Regions from separate parts of the Homo sapiens genome. Here all the other regions are linked to region 2. The links are contacts of gene promoters, found by promoter capture Hi-C in blood cells and fetal thymus (Javierre and others, 2016). All regions are on one chromosome and are shown on one strand. The core of a region is centred on a gene start or on the middle of the fragment in contact, and the rest is flanking DNA. Distances in the headings are between cores, read along the strand shown.

Region 1 (4,538 bases), core at 174-2,673, 130 kb after region 2:
ACCAGAAAGCAATTATTTCTTCCTTCTATGCCCATCCCTTGTCTTTAATATCATCTTTGAAATAGTGACACCAAGGTCAGTGACTTCTCTAAGTGGCGTGAGCCACTGCTTCTGGCCTTCTTTGGTTCTTTATGATTTTTAAATTCATCCATCTCCCTAACAGTCCCCTCATCTCAAGCTCAAATTCAACTATAATAATATTTATAAGTGTCACATGATACATATTAATAGCATCATTCATTTCTTCATTTAATAAGTATTTATTGAGGCTGGGTGCAGTGGTTCACACCTGTAATCCCAGCACTTTGAAAACCTGAGGCAGGCAGATCACCTGAGGTCAGGAGTTCTAGACCAGTTCTAAACCTCGTCTCTACTAAAAATACAAAAATTAGCCAGGCCTGGTGGCGAACACCTGTAATCACAGCTACTTGGGAGGCTGAGGCAGGAGAATTGCTTGAACCCAGGAGGCGGAGGTTGCAGTGAGCCGAGATTGTGCCACTGCACTCCAGCCTTGGCCACAGAGCCAGACTCTGTCACAGAATAAATAAATAAATAAATAAATAAGTCTTTATTGAGCTCCCAATATGCACCATGTACTGTTCCAGACTCTAAAGTTAAAACTACAAAGAAAACAGGGTCTCTTTCTGAAAGGTTCCTAATGTTTAAGGGTAGATGGACAATGAAAGCACAATCAGTGCTGTATCAGGGGCAAACGGGGTAACACAATGGAGGATGGGAGCAACATGTAACTATGTTCCATGAAGGTCATCAAAGACATTGTGGAAGAAGTGATTAATAGGAGTTAACTCAAAAAATGGGGGGGAAAAACAAAGCAAAACAGGAGAAAGCATGTGCAAAAGTGCAGAGGCAAGACATAGCAAGCAATCTTACAGAACTACAAATAACTCAGTGTAGTTGAAGGATAGGTGGGGGGTGGCACTGGCAAGACACAGGTGGGAGAGACCAGACTGTGAGAAAGCCTTACATCCTGAGGACAAGAGGGGATTGATGAAGAATTTTAAGCAGGGTGAACGGACGGGACATAATTAGAGATTCAGAAAGATCCCCTTGGATTTGATGTGAAAACTGAAAACCAAGAGACCTGTTTGGAGGCAGCAGTGGTGATCCGAAGAGAAGAAATGATCAAAGCTAGTGATGGTCCAAGTGGAGTTATGCCCTCGGAGGTGAGACCTCTCTTGGGGAGGTGGAATCTTCAGGACTTGGGTACCAATTGGACAAGTGTGTCAGGGAGGGAGAAGGGTCAGGAGATGCCCAGCAAAAGGAGCAGATTTTAGCTGGGAAATGGAGACAAGAACTTAATTGCAGTCCAATTGAGTAGAGGTGCCTGTGGGAAATCTAGATGTAAACATCCAAGCGATCCGAAACCTAAGTCTGAAGCTCAGGACAGCCTTCTGGGCCATTGGCACAAGTTCAGGGGTCATCAGCAATAAATCGTTGGAGCTACAAGAATGAACAAGATCACCAAGGGAGAGAATGTGTCCGGAGAATAGAAGAGGGTCAAACTCAGAGAGGTCACACTGAGTTAAATAGAAGGGCAAAGGAAAAGTTGTCGGAAAGGAGACTGAGAAGGAGCAGCCAGAGATGGAGGAGGGAAAGTTGGAGAATGTGGCTTAATAGAAGGCAAATGAAGAGAGCATTCCAAGCACAGAAGGAAGTGGTAAACAGCGTCAAATGTTGAGAGCTCAAGTCAGATAAGAAATGAGAACTGTTTATTAGATGTAGCAATAGGGAGGTGGCTTGGGACCAAATGAGAGCAGTTTCTGAGGAAAGGTGTGGGCAGAAGCAGATTGCTGTCAGTTGAGAGGAAAGGGACATGAGGAAGCCACAGAGAATGTGGACAGTTATTTCAAGAACTCGGGCTCTGAGGGGGAGGAGTGTGATAGGAGAAAAGTGTAGGGCAAGCGGGAGAAAAGAAGAGTTAGGAGGATTTTTTAAAAAGAAAGAGACTTGAGGATACTTAAAAATGGGAAGGATCGTGTGAAAATTTTGAGGTTGAAATGTAGAAGAGTGGGGATACATGCCGGAAGGAAGTACATGAGAAGGCCCAAGGTGATGAGAGCCTAAGTTTAGATGGAAGGGTTAGTCTTAGGGGAAGGTAAGTGCAGGTATAGGGACAGGTAAGATGGTGAAAGACATGGCAGGAAATTGTGTGTGTTCTCATCTGTGGCTTCTAATTTTTTGTGAAGGAGCAGGCAAAGTTATTTGAAGGTAAGGGGTGAGGTAGAAGTATGAAGGAAAGAAATAGATGGCTTCAGTTCAATGAGGAAAAGTCTCATAATCGATGCTGTGGAGATGGAAGGGAGAGAGCTGACCAAGAAAACAGGAGCATCAGGCAGTGCTGATGGCACAGGGCATGTGGGAGTTCATTTGTAGGATACCCTTCCAGAAAGTTCGGTGATTTTCTCCAGCTGTGCCTCCCAGCCCAGGAACAGAAAAAAATGTAGACAGCTGCGGGTGGAAGAGTTTTGCCTCCATGTTTTGATGGAAAGACAATTTGAGAAGACTAGAGGGGAAGCACCAAGTTCACGAGTGAGCCGGATGTCAAGGGAGTGGAGTAAAAGTGCAGACAGAAGTACAGGGAGGGAGATGATCACTTTCCAAAAGGAAAATGCCAAGGCTTAGGAGGAGAGGAGCAGTGGGAAAAGGAAATCCAGAACAGAGGAGTAAAATGGGAGAAAATGTTATGGTTGTCCCACGAGTCATACCTTGGCCAAAGACCAGGAAAGGCAACAAAATAGAAGGAATATAGAGTTCTCACCAAAATAAAGCCTAGTAGTCATCTTGTAGCTAGGAAAACTCCTGCCTCTGTGAAGAAGTAAACCAAGGCTTGCATGGATTGTCCTGTTAAGGGAATCTTGGCCCATTACATTGGTCCATGGGGATTCGCTGGTTCCTCTGACTCTCCTACTGGAAACCACAGCAGCCTCTAGGGACTGGGACACTCTCGTTTCTCTGAAAGGAGTCAGCCCATGTGTGGTTCAAGGATGCTTCACTCTCTTTACCCTATTTATAGAACCTTCTTATTTGAGAACTTTGTGAGGTAAGTAGTATTACCTCCCATTCACAAGCAAGGCTCAGAGAGTTTTATAACTTGCTCCCGGCTGTCAGCTACCAAAAGGGAGAAGTGAGACTAAGTGTACATTTTATGACTCCGAGTTCAGTGCTCTTTCAAACTATAGGCCTGTCTTATAGGACTGGAAATCCCTTAATTACTTCAAACCCTATGAGAAGATGCCAGTGTAATGGTTGTAATATTTTTGAAAATAATAAATTGATATGTTTACATTTATATTAACTTCCAAAGCCTAAGTCCTTCTGACTCAAATAGCAGATAGGCTGTCAGGTGGGGGTGAATACCACCCATCTGGGAAATGTTCACGGTCACTTATGATTGTCACAGGTCTGTGGAATGCTGCTGGCATTTAGTGGGTGAAGGTCAGGGACATTAAATCTCCAGCAATGCCTAGGGCAGTCCTACCCAACAAAGATTTGTCCTACCCTAACTTCAGTGCTACTCTCAGTGAGGAACACTGGTAGGACAGCATGGTAGATGGCCTCCAAGACCACGCTGATGATCCCCACCTCCTGGTATTCCACCCTGTGTAGTCTCTCCCACATTGTACTAGAGTCGTATAACCGGTGGAACATGGCAGAAGTGATGCTATGTCACTCCCAAGATTGCAGCTCCTGTCTTGGTCACTGCGTCTCTCTTGGATCACTAGTTCTGGGGGAAGCCAGGTCATGACCAGCCCTACAGAAAGGCCCAATGGTGAAGAACTGAAGCTTCCGGCCAACAGCCATGTGTATGACGTTGGAAACAAATCCTCCAGTCCCAGTCAAGTCTTCAGAGGCTGTAGCCCTGAGTGACAGCTTGACTAAAACCTCAGGAGAGACCTTGAGTCAGAACCACTCAGACAAGCTGGTCTCCGATTCCTGACCCTCAGAAACTGTGGAAGATTACAAATGTTTGTTGTCTTAAGTTACTAAGTTTTGTGGCAATTTGTTATGTAGCAATCGATAACTGAGATAAAGAAAATAGTCATGGCTAAGTTTAATGTCTGTCTATCTATCTATCTATCTATCTATCTATCTATCTATCTATCTATCTTTAATTCGTAGCAAGACTGTCTTAATAGCCAGCCACAATTGACTCAGTCCACAGAGCTCTAACATGAACCATGGCAGTAACTCAGGATATGATGTAACAGAAGTTCATGTCTACCTAGAGAGAAAGGGGAAGTACAAACTCTTTGAGGAGGAAATAAAAAGATAAGGGAAGTAGAAGAAAAGAAGCATTCAGATATTTGGGTCTTAGCTTCTGATTCCAGGGCCACTGTACTTGGTTGTGCAGTGTTTATTCAAGGAGTCAAGTGAGGGTGGGTATCCAAGCCTTGTTTCACTTACCAAGATTGGCAGCCCTTGTCCAAGGATATCTTTCTGAAAGATCTCACTTTCTAATTTTCATAAGGGAACTGTATTAGTTTCCTAAAGCTGCCATAACAAAGTACCACAAACTG
Region 2 (4,507 bases), core at 248-2,747:
CTTCAAAATCTGGGTCAAACTGTGGAATGGCTATTAAAGACAGAAAGGCAGAAAGAAAAAAAGCAGAGAATCAGAGAGAAGCTTCTCTTTCCACCACATATGGGAGGGTCCTTTGGGAGTTTTTACCAAATTGTTCAGGAAGAGTTAAACATGATGTTTTTAAGGTGATGAATTTAAAAAAAAACCACAATAAGTGCACCTTTGTCCCACGATGGAAGGACCCCAAAGGTGGAACATCCCAATTTAACAAGAGTAACTTTCTGAACATCTTCGTTATGCTAAACTCTGGGCTAGGCATTTATGGTTTTAGCTCATTTAATCCTCTCAACCAAATCCATTAAAGATAAACACTAACTTTTATTCCCATTTCGCATACGAATAAATAGACCTAGAGAAGTTAAGTAACTTGCCCTTACTCAAGGACACAAACCTGGTAGAGAGTGGAACCAGAATCGGATCACAGCTCCATCTGACTCAAAATCGATGTCCTAAACCACTTCATTTGCATTCATAAAATTATTTTTCATCCTTTTATTTCAGTAAAAAGGAATAATGTATTAATGTTAAATAGGAAAATTATTCAGATGGCTTCAGAAACTGACCTGTGTTTTTAAGATATTTTTTTGAACAGACATCCACATATATCCAATCAGTCAAAATCAAATAACACCATTTTCTCAAATGCATGAAAAAGTAAGAGATGACTTGTAACTGCCTAAATGTACCTAAGTTCAATATCTCAAATTAGAATTATGATTCAAGAATGAATGGGGATCAGCATTTTATTCAACTGATGAATTGCTCCTCAAAGTTTATTTTATTTTATAACTGCATACATTTCCATCATCACACTTTAATTGAAAATTAAATTAATAGTAAAATAAGGTGAAACTGGTTTAGTGAAAACAATGCAAAACTCCATAATAAAGTTCATGCCCATTTGGGAATGAATCCATATCAAAAATCTTTATCAAAAATAATTGTAGTGGAATTAAACTTTGAAAGGAGGTGAAGGTCTTGCTTTGGGTTGAAATCATTTAAATTAAATATAATGAAAAGTGACCAGGGTGCTTATTTTTACTTTGTTTTGTGGGAAATTGTGCTGGGAATGTGGATCTATTGTACACAAAGGATGTTGGCTTTATGCTGGAACCACTAGGCAGGTTGAGTTGAGAAACAATTAGCTCAGTCAGCAAGCCTTTGAATCTGATTAAGCCAGGAAGTGGTCACTCCCCAGGACAGGGCAGAATGAAGGGAATCAAGGCAGCAATCCAAAGCAAGGGATAATTTTTTTCTCTCTTTCTCTTAAATAAATTGTTATTAGAATTTATTGTGTCAAATTTATGCCAAGGACTATTTGAGTACATTTCATCTTTGGTAAAACAAATAGAATCTTGTTTCCAAGTAGATCAACAGTTCGTATGTGTCGTGGCTACTGTCTCTAAGAAACTTCTATTTACTGAGGCCTGTCATACGCTCATGTTTTGGTAACAAAACATCTTTGAGACCAAGGCCTCAAGCCACCAAGGAAAATGAAGGGCCTCTACCAGGCTGCTGGCCGGATTCTTGTTACTCTGGGGATCCTCAGTGTATGCTCTGGAGTTATTGCTTTCTTTCCTGTCTTTTCTTACAAGCCTTGGTTCACAGGATGGAGTGTTCGAATTGCTTGTCCTATCTGGAATGGAGCTTTGGTATGAAAATAGTTTATTAAATATATTGAGAAAATAAAAGAAGGTGGGAGGGAAAGGGAAAACAGAAGAACATATCCTTTTAAATTGTTCTAACAATACAAAGAAGTCAAAATTCCACAAAAAATCAGAATCCGCCTTGGAACATTGATTTCTATTAATTGCATTTTAAGTATAAAAATGATCTTAATATTGTTTTATCATGTATACATGTATATTATGTATTTTTAATGACATGCTGCTCAAGAAATTCTTAAAAAGTTATTTTATTTTAATCCACTTAACTTGATATGCTAAGAAATTAGAATCTTTTGAAATGTGAATTTTGAATTTAGAAAAAAACATAAACCTTGAAAAGTAATTTTAAAATACAGAACAAAGTAAAATAATTTTCAAACTAATGCTTTCATTGCAAACACTAAGATGTACATGGCCCCAAAATTTACAAACCCCAAATATTTGTTTTTCCACCTTTCTCTTGCAAGCAACTGTTTGAACTGAAAATAACTCAATAATTTTCAATTATTTGAAAATAATTCAAATAATTCAATAATTCAAGATGGACTTCACAATTCACTAGGAAAGTACATGTGCCAAGTACAGCGTACGACACTAAGTAGTACTCCGTGTGCGCTCATTGAATCATTGCACAGATAAACGATTGGCCTGGTCCCTTAGCTCTCCAACCAAAAAAAAATGGGCACATCTAGTCTTGGGAGTAACTGGCTTCCATGCTGGTATGATTTAAGAGAAGTTACAGAGACCCACCTGTCCAACAAATCCTTCTCTCATTGATTCCTGTGACGCCTGACACTACTGGAGACTGGAGAATTCAATATTGAAGCTTTTTGATCTTAAGGAATCTTCTATTAAAATGTAGCCACTTGGCCGGGCATGGTGGCTCACGCTTGTAATCCCAGCACTTTGGGAAGCCAAGGGGAGCGGATCACGAGGTCAGGAGTTCGAGACCAGCCTGACCAACATGGCGAAACCCCGTCACTACTAAAAATACAAAAATTAGCTAGGCGTGGTGGCATGCACCTGTAATCCCAGCTACTCAGGAGACTGAGGCAGGAGAATCACATGAACCTGGGAGGCAGAGTTTGCAGTGAGCCGAGATCATACCACTGCACTCCAGCCTGGGTGACAGAGCAAGACTCCATCTCAAAACAAACAAACAAAATGTAGCCACTGTTGTGTGAGATAGTATCTTAAATCTTTAAAAAGTTAAAACTTTAACTGAGATACCACCTAAAAACTAGACCTCAGGAAATATAAATTTTAATCTACTTATTAGATAAATATTTATGAATAGCCCCCTATGTCGTTGAGTTACAATGAAGGATCCAACAAGGTCTTCATCTTAAAGGAACTTGGTCTAGTGGGGTTTGATGAATGTGTGCAGATAGACGGAAGCCAGTGGGATTATGGGAGAGTCGATGGAATGAGGAAACCACAGGGTTATCTTTCTCTTTCTCAGTTTTTTTTTCTTTTTCAATACATTCTTTTGCATCTATCACCCCAATCTTGATCTTCCCTTCTTTTCTCCAACACCTACCTGAAACCACAATTCATTCAAAGAAATATTTGTTTAAGTTCTACTGGAATGCAGAGATGGCAGTTACACTTATTCAAGTGGCTTCCAAACTTTTTTTTGGTGACTCAGAGTCAGAAAAATATTTTAGGTGAGGACCCAGAATGTACATAAATACATCTACATTCTTCTCTCTAGATAAATAGATATCTACATCTATTATGTATATACATGTATAGTAGATGTTTATATATCTATAAAACAAAAGTTGCTCAAAATAGTACTTACCCTCTATGTGAAACATATTCTGATATTTTCTATTTCATTTAATTTTTTTAAAAATTCTGATTTCACAAAGTTTAACAATATCATGATTAGAGTTCAACCCTACATTCTTTTGTTACAGCTGTTTGCCTATCCTTTCAGACTGCAACATAATACATTAAACAAATATTGGTGATTTTGATTAAGATTACAGATGATTGAATGTATTGTTCTAGGCCAAACATCTATTTTTACCAGTTAGGCCCGGAGAAATGATATGATGTGTCTCCAGCACATAGTTAATTGGTAACTGTTTGATTTCAGAGGTGGCAGCATCAGGAAATGGAGTCAGAGATAAAGGATTTAGAGAAGTGGACCTGTTTTCAAGTCCTGACTTTGATGTTCTTGGTAGGAGGTCAAAAGCAGGACCCTCAGCCAGCCAGTTCCTCATTCCCTTTATCTGTAAAATGGGGAATTTTACAGATAAAAAGAGCCCACGTGTAAAACTGTCCAACCCTAAGATGCACAGTGAGAAGGAACACAATTTAAACAAAGATTGTATAATAAAGAGCTTTGCCAATTTTAAAGCCCTCTTCAAATGCTAGTTAATACTATGCCTTTCATTTGTGCCCTACTCTCTGTTCAAGCCCTTTGTTCTTAATCCTGTGTCACCCACCTCACTTTCCTATCCTACTCCCTCGTAACCTGCTGAGTTCTCCATCCTGTTACTTCCTGGACTTCATCTCCTACCACTCTTCCCTTAGGTCACTTCTCTCCCATCACATTGGCTCCTTGCAGTTTTCAAACATGCCATGATGTGTTTCTGCCTCAGGGCCTTTGCACTACCTGCCCTCTGCCTAAAGCCTCTTCCTGAACTTGGCTCACTCCCTAGTCTCCTTCAATTCTTGATTAATTCTTTATCAAACAACACTTTTTTATGGAGGTTTGCTCCCATTACACTATTTAAAATTGTAATCCCCTGACCCCAACTGGTGTTCCCAATCTCTGATACCCTGCTCTA
Region 3 (4,445 bases), core at 1,400-3,899, 220 kb after region 2:
GCCTGAAAAAAATAGAGTCTCTAACAGAGGAGCTGGGTAAAATCAGAGTAGGACCATCTCTAATGCCTTTTCTAGCTCTCTTACTCTGATTTTGTGAATTTATCCTTAGGGACAGTTTTTCATCAGGATGAGACCCTGCTGTGGTCTGAATGTTTGTGTCTCTCTCCCCTCACCAAATTTATTTATATGTTGAAATCTAACCCCCAAGTTGATGGTGTTAAGAGGTGGGGCCTTTAGGAGACAGTTACATCATGAGGGTGGATCCCTCATGAATGGCATTCACGCCCTTATAAAAGAAGCTTAAGGGCCAGGTGTGGTGGTGCGAATCTATAGTTCCAGCTATATGGAAGGCTGTGGCCGTGAGAAGATTGCTTGAGGCCAGGAGTTTGAGGCTGCAGTGAGTGAATAACCCCTGCACTCCAGCCTGGACAACATAGCAAGACTCTCTCTTAAAATAGATAGATAGATTAGATAGACAGCCTAAGGGAGCCTGATTGCCCCTCCACCATGTGAGGACACAGCAAGAAGGCACCATCTGTGAACCAGGAAAGGAGCCCTCACCAGACATCTGATTTGTTGGTGCCTTGATTTTGGACTTACCAACCCCGAGAACTGTAAGAAATGAATTTCTGTTGTTTGTAATTACCCAGGCTAAGGTATTTTGTTAAAGCAGACCAGATGGACTAAGTCAGCCCCATAATGACCCGTTTTATATTTTTATTTATAATCTATCTGCTGCTTAATTTTGTGATTAGTGGCCAGCTACTGTTTACTCATCTTTTATTCATCTGTAAAACTCTTTTTAACTTGTCTTTGTAAGAAACGGTTGGCTAACAGATGAATTTTCAGGTTGTTCAGTTTTAAAATGTTTTACTTAAAAGGGTAAGACAACTCCCCAATGCAAAGTGTGACTTCAGAGATAACTTTCATTTCTTTGAAATGTAGGAAGTCCATAGCCATTGCTGGCTGACATCTTTCTGCTCAATATGCTCCAGGGGAAGATTATCAAATTTTAGCTTCTGAGCTTTCAAATGGCTCTTATTATCAGTGGCATATTACATGAAACTGGTTTTGGGCTCTTCAAATTTATATTTTTGGCAAAGGTGTTGGGAGATTTGATTTCATTCGTCATCACTGCAGTACCTGGCGCATAGTAGGCTCTCCATTTGGTGTGTTGGATGAATGAAGAAAGTGATTCTGCTAGTCAGTGGGGTTTAAAAACAAGTGTCCACCAACTTAATGGGTCCCCATTGATCCTGAGTTCACCTCTGTTGCCCTGTATATATGTGACCCCATGTTTATTGCAACCTTATGGGCATCTCAGGCACTGCAGAGAACAGCCTCTTAAAATTTCTGGTAGAGGCCTGGTGCGGTGGCTCACGCCTGTAATCCCAGCACTTTGGGAGTCTGAGGCGGACGGATCATGAGGTCAGGAGTTCGAGACCAGCCTGACCAACATGGTGAAACCCCATCTCTACTAAAAATATAAAAATTAGCCGGGCATGGTGGCATGCACCTGTAGTCCCAGCTACTCAGGAGTCTGAGGCAGGAGAATTGCTTGAACCTGGGAGGCGGAGGTTGCAGTGAGCTGAGATCGTGCCACTGCACTCCAGCCTGGGTGACAGAGCTAGACTCCGACTCAAAAGAAAAAAAATTTTTGGTAGACTCCTATGTGCCATTTCTGGAGAACTGAAATAGTAGTGGACATACATAGGATTCATTTTAGTGTAGATATGACTTTTTAGTGAAACTTGAAGTCCTACTTCCTGTGTGTGAAATAGGGTAATAGGATCACACCCGAAGAAATGCCGCCTTGTTCAAAAGTGACAGGATCGCTGTTCAGTTTGGAATATTGGAAAGTGGGCAGGTTTATTTGGAAGCACTTTGTTTTTACTATATGTGTAAAACTCCAGGGAGCATTGAATAGGATATGAGGTGCTCCCTTTGGCTGTGCATTAGCAACGTGGCAGTTACTGATCTGTCATTTACTTTGAAAAGGAATTACAAAGTTTTGGCCTCATGCCTGGAGTAGCTCCAGATGGTCAGAAAAGATTTTTGTACTGAAGTCAGAAAGTATATTGCAGTGATAGAATTGGGCTTGTCATGTTTATATTAGAACACTGGCTTCCCACTTTATTCCTCTGCAAAGTTTTTCTTTCTTTCTTTTTTCCCAGAGAGTGAGGGGAGGAAATTGTTGCTTTAGAGTTATGAGTCTAATATTTGGAATACTGTTGTTCTTGGTGATAATGATGTAGAGGTATGATTATGTGGTTAATGTAGTTACTTTGTCAACCTAAATACCCCTGATTCTTAGTATTTACAAAGGATGCATGAAGGCTTGGAATGTAGAGATACACCAAGACCATTGTAGCTGATGTAGAAATGCAGGTAAGAAGCTTCATTTGGGTTGCGTTTGCTTGTCTGATAACCTGGCTGTTAGCCCACAACTGTTATTTAGTAGCTTACCAAACTTCATCTGTTCTGTCTTCCCATGATTCTGTGGTTGCTAGGGGTAATGATGACGTTTGGGTGTTCAATATGGGTGGGAGGTGGGCCTGGGGAGATGAGCAGTGAGGCGATAATGATACTAACACCAAGTTTTGCCATTTTAGGCATTAGAGCATCTTAAATTCCACATATGATCTTGTGTACCTTCATATCAACCCTGGAAGGGGAACGATGTGATTCCTATTTTCCTGATGAGAAAACTGAGACTTTGGGAGGTAATATCTGCCCAAGGCAATATCTAGGTAACTCCCTTCTGCAGCCTGTTTACATATAGTTTTGGCGAAAATGACTACAATTTCCTGTCCTTTCAGGACAGAGGTGGCTACAGGCTTCAGGAAATAAAGCTCATTTTCCTCTGGGAAACTCAGGACTTGTCTGGGTTGAGCCATTTAGTAAAGCTTGGTCACAAGGCTCAGATTAAGACCTGGATCTACGTGCTGCTGTTCCCAGACTGCTTTCAGTTACTCTTGTGGTTACTGAGTAACTTGGGAGTTAGAAGAACATTAACAAAGTTTTGTGTTTTCGAAGAAAATGCTACACATGGAGAAGTGACACTAAGTTGCATACTTCAGAAAGGAATTTTTATCTGTTTTGAGATTCTGGTCTATACATTGAAAATGAACTAATTTTGATTATTATACTTTTAATTGGTTGCACGAGTGTGTGAACATAGGCAGCTCTTTTGAAGCACTTTTACTGAAAAGTGTAAAAATTTTTGTTGCTGTTGTTCAGTAGCAGACATATACAATACTCTCTTTTTGAGACATACACAATATTCTCTTATTGTGGATTTAGGGGTCTTGTACCAGATCACCCTTTTCTCAGATTGCAGCTCTTCCTCCTTGCTTTATGTAGAGTGGTTTCTAACTTGGTTCTTTCTCCTGTGCAGATATAAGACTTGGTCCGCAGTCTCCTACCCTCACCCAGTCTTCCATGAGCTATCAAAATCCTCCTCTAGGCTTTTATTATTTTGCTTCCTAATTTTGTCCTTTTAAATTTCCACTGTTTAGATATTATTCAGACAGCAGTGGTATTTTTCTGTATATAATGTGGCGCTGTAATTAGTTTGAGTTCTTTTGGGGTTGTGTCTTAAACAGCGAGAATGGCCTGATTGATGTGCTTTTTGAAGTCTTACTACCTTTTTGATGAGAAGGATGAAAGTGGTGTGGAGATGAGTTTGTCTGGCTTACTGTAAATCTGATCTGTGAGGCTTTTCTGCGTTCACTAAGGCACCAGAGTCGGACTCTGCTTTTTTTCTTGTTTGATGTTACTTTATTACACTTATGAATGAAATACTAATGCTGTTATTTTATAGAAGATCATAAAATAAAAGTACACTTTCTTAGTGTTTTATGTTTCTTTAAAAAGATAATTACCGTGAGTCATAGAGCTACAATTACATCAAGAGTTTCCTATACGAAGCAAAGTCTCTGGTGGGTTTTTGGTACAGTCTTTGCACCTGGATCAGTGGAGCAAAATGTCATCACACTTGAAAAAAAAATTACTTAACAGGCCCATTAAGAATCTTCAGAAGTTTGCATCTTGTTAGGGATTTGTGGTCCAAGAGTTAGTACTACAGAACAGGCTCTTTTGTAGACCTAGGGAAACCAGTTTGTTTCTCTGCCACTTAACCTGCAAGACTTATTATAGGTGTTTCCTTCTCCTGTCTGTTTTGAAGAGACTTCCTCTGGGAATTAATGGTAGAATACTTATGACTCCTGAGAGCAGAGAACGTTCAGGCCATCATCATCTTCTCCCTCTGGGCTGTACATGGCCTCCCTGTGTCTCTACTGCCTGTCATACCTCCCCACTCCTCCACCTCAGTCACAGGGCGACTGCCTTGCTTTCGGTCTACCTTTCCCAACTCTTCAGGCTCATCCTGGTGGATCCCATTCTGTAGCCCCTGCTGCTCTTTTCAGGGGATTCTATTTTGTCTT
Region 4 (4,029 bases), core at 1,222-3,721, 240 kb after region 2:
GGGCACTGGTGAAGTTTCAATTTCTGGAACAGCATATTAATGCATAGTGGGTTCTCCAGCTCCATAGTAAATTTGGTGATGAAATGAATCAACATGTGGTAAATACGTGGTGCTACAAGGTGATGAGATCATCTCCTTGATCTTAGATTATGTTTTCAGCTTTGAGCAAGTGGTGGGACATCTTGGGATGATACTGCTTACCTCATTTGATTTGATCAATGAGATTGAATTTGTAAAGCTGGGCTTCAGGATATGGCCTACAGATTTTTTTGCGTTTGGTTTTGTAGAGTGTTTTAAAAACTTTGCAAGCAACATTTAAGAACTAAGGGATTTCACGTAAAATAAGATTTCTAGCTTTTTTGGTTTGTTTGTTTTGTTTTTTTCTTTAGAAACTGAAAGATCTGACAACATGGCCTGCATTCCTATATGGTTAGTGAAGGTCTTGAACTAAATAGCAGCTCACTGTTAAGAAAGGGCATTTGCTCTCTAGTTTACCACAGTCCCCCTGACTCTCTGTTAACTCTTGATACCGAAGCTGAGTTGTCAGTTGCTTTTTCCCATCTTTTACATTCTTTAATTTTTAAATATGAAGAAATATTCAGCCATGTTTTTTGAAAGGAAATAAAGGAAAGGTCAACCACTTCACTCATCGACATTGCCTCCATGGCCCTTGTTAGGCAATTGAAACTTGGAGCCCCTTGATGTGTTTATCTAAGACCTCTGCTTCTTTGAGGTCTAGACTTTTTATGATTATGGTTATGATTGCTGATGGTATGCAGAAGAGAAGAGATAGCAATTCAAAGGAATTAACCTCAGTGCTTTGACTGTGGAAGTGGTAGCATGGAATGTGAGTCTGGGGAAAAGTGCTTCCTTTGTTGAACTATTAATGCATAATGGATTCGGATGTTAAAAGTGCATGGCCACATTGCTTGTTTCTCAGATACAGTATTAGAAGGGCTCTATAGGTGTATACATAGTCTCTATTCTAGAGAGCTTTTATTTTTCTGTTTGTAAAGGTGGCAAAAATTGCAAAAGATTTAAAAAATATTACTTGTAAAAAGTGATATTTCATCCAGGAGAAATGAATGCTTGAGATTTGTTGTCTAAGACCTAAACAATTAAGCTCTGGGCCAGGCATGGTGGTTCACACCTGTATTCCCAGCACTTTAGGAGACTGAGGTAGGAGGATCACTTGAGGCCAGAAGTTTGAGACTGGCCTGGGCAACATAAAGAGATGACGTGTCTACAATAAATTAAAAATTAGCTGGGTATGGTGGCACACACCTGTAGTCCCAGCTACTTGGGAGGCTAAGGTAGGAGGTTTGCTTGAGCTCAGGAGGTAGAGGCTGTAGTGAGCCATGATCCTGCCACTGCACTTCAGCCTGGATGACAGAGCAAGACCTGATCTTTAAAAAAAAAAAAGCTCTGCTTCCCTTTTAATATAAAGAACAAATGGCATATGCTTCCAAGGGTACATTGGAAAATTGGCAATTTCAAGCCATGTTTAATGTGGAAATGTGACTTGTGTTTTGTTATTATATGGATAAATTAGATTGTACAATTAGTCCTTTAGACTCATGAATTGCCTATTTGATTATGTGACTCTTTATGTAAAAATTGGCCTAAGTTCTTATTTAAAGGAACTATGTAAGTGAAATGCTAATAACATTTCTTATTTTCATATAATCTTTATAAAATTGGGATTTCACATAATCTCATTAGGAGAATTGAAAAGAATTAAGTTGTTAGATCAGAGTTATCCAAAAGGCATTCTCTAGTGAACATTAGATCTTAAAAAGTTTGTGTGTTCAAAAACGTTCGGCCTTGGGGAGATTCTCAGTGTATATTAAAAGTTCTTTGAAGTGTAGTGTTAAAGAACTTCTAGCTCTTCAACTCAGAGTTTCTCAAGCTTGATGGAAGTTTTCTACAGAAGATGTATTAGCATGTAGCAGAGTATTTTTCCTGTGTCACATACCTTAGAAATTTTCACCTGGATAGATTTATTAAAGAACAGACACCACAGGTGGTGAGTTCCTGGCTTCACATGGTTTCTTGCTTTTCCTCACTTTTACCAGAGTTTATAGTTCCATTTCTTCCAAGCCACTCCCGGAGATGGAAGGAAGTGGCATGCTCAAAACAGTGTAGAATCCAAACGGAATGAGAAGGATAATTTTGAGTCATCTTTCTTTTGTTTAGAAAATAAATATACCTTTTTTGAAAAGAATTGATTTCCTATTTTTAGGTAATGTACTTCTAGTTAAGGCGCATAACTTACCTTGCCTATATTATAAACTATCAGCTTGACCGAAGCCATCTTTTTCTTCTGCTGTTGGTCTTTTAGAGACTTGCTGTTATTCACATAGATAATACTTGTTTTCTCTGTGAGCCGTACTACTTGCCAGGTTTGGGACTTCTCACATAGAGGCTGATGTAATAGGGAAAGACAGTGGGATAATTAACATTTTGGAATTTGATAAGTAAGAATGAGTGCATATGTGTGTGGGCGTTAAAAGAGCTTATAACTTGGTTAGATTTCCTTTGTAAACTTAGGTGGAAAATATGCTTAGAAATTTGAAGTGATTTGAGAAGCAAGAGACCTTATCCTGCCATTAATCAGTGGTGTGACCTCTGAAAAATAAGGGATGGAATAGATAATCTCAGAGGTGCTGCTGATTAAAAAAAATTTTTTTTTCAAATTTCATTGCAAATTTTAAATCCTGATGTTGCATTTTTAAAACTTGTATAGGTTGTAACATGCTGGAAATGAAATCAAACCCTCACTGGGGAAAAATTAATGCTGATGTACAAATATGATTTGGAATCTTTGGTATTTGCCAGGGGCTATAAGAATTCAATGCTTCTCCATTTGTGATCTTTCTGTAGCACGTGAAGGCTGATTGAGAATTTGAGAGCCCTAGCTCTAGATCTCCAAATAATTGGAGATCTCTAAATAGTTAGAAATATGCAAGAGAAGATAGTCCACATTAGCAAGAGATGAGAATGTAGTATATACCACTTTGGTTCATGTATCTTGAAGCTTTTATCATTCGTCACCTCAGCCATTCGTTTTTTTCAGAGTAAGTCATATGCTTAGAACCAGGAAATTGCCTGCCACATCTTGTTCCTGGAAAAGCTGACAGCCTAAAAATGCTTATCATTCAAGGTGTGACCTAAATGAGTGTTGTACAGCTATTGTAATTTTTCTATAAAGTTATGTGGCTAAACAAGGTACTTTCTAGGGAAAATTTCTTCCAAGTAGGCCTTTATTTACAACTTGAATCCTAAATTAGCAAAACCGCTGTACTGGTACCACAGAAGTTCATATTAGAAGGGAATTTGCAGGTAGTCTAGTCCAACCTTTTTATGTTGCAAATAAATGTAGACTGAGAAACCTAACTCCTGCAGCTAGCATACATAACAGAACTGAAACCCAAATCTCCAGATGGCCACCACGGTCATCTTTCCTCAGTATCATGTGGGTTTCAGTCAGTGTCTCTCGTGCTAGAATGAATCCCATGTAAAGTATGTTTTAAATTAAATGTAATGCCCATACATCAAATCACACAAGTCTGTACCTTCGTAATTATATTTTGAAATGCAATTGATTTGCTGAATATAAATGTTTGAAATGTTTTGTACATAGCTATTACATTTCTTTAAACTGTATTTTATAAGATGTATATTTCAATGACAATACTTATCCTACAAAAGAGAATGGTTTCATAAATTGATTTAAAAGTAGGTGCCAGTGTTACACTTATAAATAAAAAGATAAATTTTACATAGTGAAATCTAAAAAAGAAATGCAATTGATCATTTAAAAACCACATTTTAAATAAATTCTACAAAAGGTAGCCATTATGATTTTATGATTACTTGTGTTGACAGTATTCTCCTGTGGAATGTGTGATGCTTAAAATGATTAGCTTGTACAAAAGCTATAACAATAGTAATATTTTTACTCATTTATTCAACTGTAAGATTTTAAAATTTACAGACAATAGCCAAATAATATTCAGGGTTCTGTTT

What was found. The method cuts DNA at HindIII sites, captures the fragments that hold promoters and counts their contacts. A CHiCAGO score of 5 or more calls a contact.
Region 1: a fragment that was not itself captured here is called in contact with the fragment with the promoter of TMEM212 in region 2 in 1 of 17 cell types (M0 macrophages); the score reaches 5.6 in M0 macrophages.
Region 3: a contact is called between a fragment that was not itself captured here and the fragment with the promoter of TMEM212 in region 2, in 4 of 17 cell types (endothelial precursors, M2 macrophages, M0 macrophages and 1 more). The highest score is 7.2, in endothelial precursors.
Region 4: a contact is called between a fragment that was not itself captured here and the fragment with the promoter of TMEM212 in region 2, in 1 of 17 cell types (M0 macrophages). The highest score is 6.2, in M0 macrophages.

What each region holds. Positions count from the first base shown.
Region 1 is chr3:171,973,871-171,978,408 of GRCh38, forward strand. The region is part of intron 3 of LOC105374217 (a long non-coding RNA gene); the gene reads left to right. Among named protein-coding and RNA genes, the nearest start is that of FNDC3B, 63 kb to the right of the region's middle. The HindIII fragment of the contact is 4,757 bases long and covers 1-3,802 here.
Region 2 is chr3:171,841,852-171,846,358 of GRCh38, forward strand. It overlaps TMEM212 (transmembrane protein 212), which reads left to right and starts at 1,498. Exons shown (of 5, transcript NM_001164436.2): 1 at 1,498-1,691. The coding sequence starts at 1,533. The HindIII fragment of the contact is 2,451 bases long and covers 80-2,530 here.
Region 3 is chr3:172,063,691-172,068,135 of GRCh38, forward strand. All of the region lies in intron 1 of FNDC3B (fibronectin type III domain containing 3B), which reads left to right. Among named protein-coding and RNA genes, the nearest start is that of FNDC3B, 26 kb to the left of the region's middle. The HindIII fragment of the contact is 510 bases long and covers 2,395-2,904 here.
Region 4 is chr3:172,084,951-172,088,979 of GRCh38, forward strand. All of the region lies in intron 1 of FNDC3B (fibronectin type III domain containing 3B), which reads left to right. Among named protein-coding and RNA genes, the nearest start is that of FNDC3B, 47 kb to the left of the region's middle. The HindIII fragment of the contact is 1,128 bases long and covers 1,908-3,035 here.